2 separate regions of the Homo sapiens genome follow, and region 1 is linked to region 2. The links are contacts of gene promoters, found by promoter capture Hi-C in human tissues and cell types (Jung and others, 2019). All regions are on one chromosome and are shown on one strand. The core of a region is centred on a gene start or on the middle of the fragment in contact, and the rest is flanking DNA. Distances in the headings are between cores, read along the strand shown.

Region 1 (2,761 bases), core at 33-2,532, 320 kb before region 2:
TGCCTATAATCCCAGCACTTTGGGAGGTCAAGATGGGAGGATCACTTGAGGCAAGTTCAACACCAGCCTGGTCAGTGTAGTAAGACCCCATCTCTGTATTTTTTATAAGAAAAAAAAAGGAAGGAATAAAACAGAGTACATAATATACTACAGGTTTTTTTTATAAAAAGGAGAAGAAACTAGGATCTATATCCATACTGGTTTTGTATTGGTGTATTAAATTTACCTCTGGAAGAGTAAATTTAAAACTAATGGCTGTGGCCAGGCACGGTGGCTCATGCCTGTAATCCCAGCACTTTGGGAGACCGAGGCAAGTGGATCACGAGGTCAGGAGATCAAGACCATCCTGGCTAACACGGTGAGACCCCGTCTCTACTAAAAATACAAAAAATTAGCCGGGCGCGGTGGCAGGAGCCTGTAGTCCCAGCCACTTGGGAGGCTGAGGCAGGAGAATGGCGTGAACCCGGAAGGCGGAGCTTGCAGTGAGCCGAGATCACACCCCTGCACTCCAGCCTGGGCGACAGAGTGAGGCTCTGTCTCAAAAAAAAGAAAAAAAAAAAAAACTAACGGCCATAGCTGCCATTGGGGTAGGTGAACTTGCTAAATGAAGAGATGGGAGGTGATATGGTTTGGCTCTGTGTCCCCACTCAAATCTCATCTCAAACTGTAATCCCCACGTCGGAGGAGGGACCTGGTGGGAGGTGACTGGATCACAGGAACAGTTTCTCCCCTGTTGTTCTTGTGATAGTGAGTCAGTTCTCACGAGTTCTGATGGTTTTAAAGTGTGGCATCCCCCCTCATTCTCTCTGCTGCTGCCATGTAAGATGTGCCTTGCTTCCCCTTTGCCTTCCACTATGACTGCTTGTTTCCTGAGGCCTCACAGCCATGCAGAACTGTGAGTCAGTTAAACCTCTTTTCTTCAACAATTACCCAGTCTCTGATACTTCTCTAAAGCAGTGTGAAAATGGACTAATACAGACTGCTTTCACACTAGACTTTTTCAAGCCTTTTCAAAAACCCTATGAATGTATTGCATATTTAGAAAATTAAACATGGTCTGAAATGAATATATAAAAAGGCTTAGCACTTTAAGAAATCAGAGCCGGCCGGGCGTGGTGGCTCACGCCTGTAATCCCAGCACTTTGGGAGGCCGAGGTGGGCAGATCACAAGGTCAGGAGATCGAGACCATCCTGGCTAACACGGTGAAACCCCATCTCTACTAAAAATACAAAAAATTAGCCGGGTGTGGTGGCGGGCGCCTGTAGTCCCAGCTATTCGGGAGGCTGAGGCAGAAGAATGGCATGAACCTGGGAGGCAGAGCTTGCAGTGAGCTGAGATCGTGCCACTGCACTCCAGCCTGGGCGACAGAGCGAGACTCCATCTCAAAAAAAAAAAAAAAATTCAGAGCCATTTGCAAAGCCTAGTTCCTAGGCTAAGAACAGGAATCAGAAGTGCTGCCTTTTCTGTGGTCTGATGTTCACAAGATGCTGGGTTCTACCACTCCAACTCTCCCCTCCTTACCTCACTTAATTAAGAGCAACAGTAATAATAACTAGCACCTGCTCACTACATGCTATGCACCTTTTCAGTGTTTTACATGGATTAGCACCAGTTAATCCTCACAACAAACCTATGAAGTAACTGAGGCACAGGAAAGATTATTTGAAGGTCAAAGCAGGTGAGTCAAGATACAAACTCAGGCCGGGTGTGGTGGCTCATGCCTGTATTCCCAACACTTTGGGAGGTGAGGCATGCAGATCACTTGAGGTCAAGAGTTCAAGACCAGCCTGGCCAACATGGTAAAACCCCGTCTCTACTAAAAATTCAAAAATTAGCCAGGCGTGGTAGTGTGTGCCTGTAGTTCCAGCTACTCGGAAGGCTGAGGCAAGAGAATCGCTTGAACCTAGGAAGTGGATGTTGCAGTGTGTCGAGATCATGCCACTGCCCTCCAGCTTGGACGACAGAGTGAGACTCTGTCTCAAAAAAAAAAGATACAAACTTGGGCATTATGGGTCTGGGACCCACACTCTTAACCACAATCCCATGATGTCTCTCATTTACGCAGCAAATTACTCCATTGGGGTTAGGCCTTGTTTCTCAAAAAAAAAAAAAAAAAGGCTTTTGCAAAATATGTTTCCTGGGAGGATTAATAGAGCACATCTTTTAGCCATTGTCTTTAGCACCTCTGAAAACAAGCACTTGTCACCATGGAGACCATGAAATCCAGGAACAGGACAGAACACAAACAAGTACTAAAAGGGGAGTGGGAAGCATTCCCAGAATGTTCCAGAGCAGGGGGTGCCCGCCGGACAGAGATGTCAGAGCCCACAGAGGGACTGGGAATGGGTAGGATGTCTCTGGTGGGGCGACCAAAAAATTTTACCAGCTCCCCAGCTTTCCAGAGAAAGCAGCCCATTCTTTGAGACCCAGCTAAGTCCACTGGTAACCAAGAGCATGGCTTATCTGTGTGAGTCATCCAATGAAACTACCAGCTTGTATTTATACCTACCCAGGAGGACACCCGCCAGGCTTTGTCATTGCTGGTACATCTGAGAAGAACACCTCCTGCTCTTTCTCTGGAGGGAGCTGGGCGACGATACTACTAAACAGATGCCAAAGCACAGAGCCCTCCCCTGCCCCACCTCCACCCTTCAGCCCTGGTGCGGGTCTTATTGCTCACCAACTCTTGCTGCTTCTATTTCTTCCTTCCCTAATTCCTAAGGCCAAAATCCAAGTTCATTCAACAAATCTTTATTACTT
Region 2 (2,700 bases), core at 2-2,501:
AGTGCCCAGCCCGAGTGAAGAGCATGCAGGAAACAAGCCCCTGTCCTCGTGGAGGCTACATTCCGAGAGGGGAGGTAGGCAACACACACACAAACGACTCCGTGGTATGTCATGCTGCGATGCTGGCTGTGGAGGAAAATGAAGTGAGGCCTGGTGAAAGCCAGAGGCCATGGGGCTGCCGAGGAGGAACAGGGACAGGGTAGGATTTGCTTAGAGCAGGGCAGGTCGCGTGGGACTCTGCGGGCCACTGAAAGGAACTTGGCTTTTATTCAGAGGATGTTAAAGCGTGAGTGACATCCTCTGACCTTTTATAAAAGAGGCAAGAGTCTAGGGAGCCCGGGTAGAAGTGAGGGCGTCTGGAGGAGCCACAGTGGGCTCAGGGAGTGAGCCCACGCGAGGGCGCAGAGCAACTGGACGCTCCAACAGGGCTGGTGGAAGTGCCGAACGGTGTGCATCACCTTGGAAAGCAGGCAGTTTTTAATACCATGAAGCTCGTCCAGCCCTATGATTCGCATTTCCACTCCTAGGTATCACACTCAAGAGAAGTGAAGACGCCCACAAAGGGCTCTGCAGCAGCACTGCCGGTGAGAGCTGCATCCGGGGATGCATGGACTGGCCTGTCATTCCAGCACCTTGGGAGGCCGAGGTGGGAAGCATCGCTGGAGCCCAGGAGTTCGAGACCAGCCTGAGACCTCCAGAGGTGGAGACCCCCCCCCCACCACCTCCACTAAAAACTGAAAAAGAAATTAGTTGGGTGTGGTGTGCGCCTGTAGTCCCAGCATTATCTATATGTTAAACTGATGTTTTAAATCAGAGTTGATATCCAAATAATTAAAGAATAAACAACAAGCACAGGGACTGGTGAGGGGCTGGGCCAGATTCTCTGCAACCCACATGGCTTCACCCACTTTCCAAACCCCTGGTTCCGTGAGGACCTAGAATGACCACCCCAGACTGTTCCAGAAACAGCCTGGGGATTCTGAATGTTTCCCAGAGAATCATTAGGAATTATCCCAGCGGCGCTGGAGTAAGTGGCCAACTTAAAGTTGGACGACACTGTCTGAAACAGTCGCGTAAGGGGTAAGGGTGGAAAGCCTGGTTCTCACTGCGCTGCCGGCTCCCCGCCCCGCTCCACAGCCCCGCGCCGGCGCGGGCTCCCCGGGTCCCCGCAAGCCGCCGGGGGCGGGCCGGGGCGGGCCGGGGCGGGCCCGGGCGTGGGGGGCCGAAGGAGGAAGCGCGCGGGGCGCCATAAGGAGGAAGCGGGTAGTCGACCGTGTCCGCGCGCCTGGGAGACGCTGCCTCGGCCCGGACGCGCCCGCGCCCCCGCGGCTGGAGGGTGGTGAGTGCACCCGCGCCCCTCCCGGGGTACGCGCCGAGCCCCAGCCCGTGACCCCTGCCTGCCGCCTGCCCCGGCGTGGAGCTCAGGGCCCGCCGCCCGCCCTGGGCCCGACCGCGGTGGGAGCCAGAGGAGGGGAGGCGGGGGGTCAGAGCCCCAGGCCTCAGCAGCGACCTGAGGGCCGGGTCTCTCCCGCCTCCCCTCCGCCCGGGCGCCCTCCTCGGCGCGGCCGGCAGGTCGGTGCTGAGGGTCGGGTCCGCCTCGGAGGCGGGGAAGGCTTTGTTGTGTCCTCTCCACGTGGCCTGGGGATTCAGGGGAGGGGTGCGGGGCGCGGGGAGGGGGAGGGGCCGAGGCCAGCCCCGGAGAGGAGAAAACCCGCGGGCCTGGCCGGGTGCAGGCCACCCTTGCCGGCGGATCGGAATCCCCGCCCACACCGTGGTCTTTCCAGCACCGCAGACACCTGCCGGCTCCTCCCGAGCGGAGCTCAGGGCTGACAAAGCGCGGTCAGAGCGGCCGCTTACTGGGGCTCGCCCGCTCCTTAGAGCACTGGCAATGATGTGCGGATCCTCGCTGCTGCTGCTGGGAAACTGTTGAGTGGCTGAATGACCCCAGGGGACCCTGGGAGAGCTCTGAAGCCCTCAGCCACCAAGTGGCTGGGCTGGCAAGGGTTCATTCATTCATTCAACAAATACGAATGTGCAGCGGTGCTGGGGTCATGATGGCTCGGTGGGCAGCGAGGGGCCGGGCCGGCTGGAGGAGCACAGTGCGGATTCTGTAAGTGGGCTGGGGGCTGGGCCTTCTGCGGCTGGACCGGCCTTCACCTGCAGGCAGGGTTGGGGCAGGTGAGGAGCAGATGGACCCACCCAGAGCTCTTCCACCTTCTCAGGCTTGCACCCCCTTCCTGGAGCCTTATCCACACCCTCAGTCCTCGCTCTCACTGTGGGGGAGCTGCAGAGGATGCGGTTTTTCCACATTCCATCTCCACCCACAGGAGGCTTTGAGATGGGGGGAGCTCTCCTGGGCCTGAATGTGTGCCGTCCTGGGGCCCTGCAGTCCCCTGGGAGTGATGACCGAGACCAGATTCCCTGAGCTGGGGTCTTAAGGGTGTGGGGAGCGCAGAGGGATCCTCTGGCATCAGGAGTTGAGGTAGACAGAGCTCCAGGGAGGCACTGCCGGGAGGACGACCCTGGCCAAGCCTCTGCCTGCGGCCCAGGGTGTGCGTCCCTGCCCCTTCTGCCCCTCTTGCCCAGGGAGGGAAGAGGAAATGCGGGGTCAGCAGTTCGTGGCTGGGGTTTAAAGGCAGGGATCTCCCAGGACGGGCACAGGGAGCATGAGGAAGCAGCTCGTGTCTCTGTTCATGAGAT

The links. Contacts are between HindIII fragments. The study calls those that stand out against the background at their distance.
Region 1: a fragment that was not itself captured here is called in contact with the fragment with the promoter of BID in region 2 in 2 of the 25 tissues and cell types used here (IMR-90 fibroblasts and dorsolateral prefrontal cortex).

What each region holds. Positions count from the first base shown.
Region 1 is chr22:18,095,061-18,097,821 of GRCh38, reverse strand. It overlaps PEX26 (peroxisomal biogenesis factor 26), which reads right to left. Exons shown (of 5, transcript NM_001127649.3): 5 at 1-2,761. Among named protein-coding and RNA genes, the nearest start is that of TUBA8, 14 kb to the left of the region's middle. The HindIII fragment of the contact is 8,441 bases long and covers 1-2,761 here.
Region 2 is chr22:17,773,020-17,775,719 of GRCh38, reverse strand. BID (BH3 interacting domain death agonist) reads left to right here and starts at 1,251. Exons shown (of 6, transcript NM_001196.4): 1 at 1,251-1,339. RefSeq lists silencers at 1,123-1,222, 1,243-1,292, 1,313-1,382, 1,413-1,742. The HindIII fragment of the contact is 15,001 bases long and covers 1-2,700 here.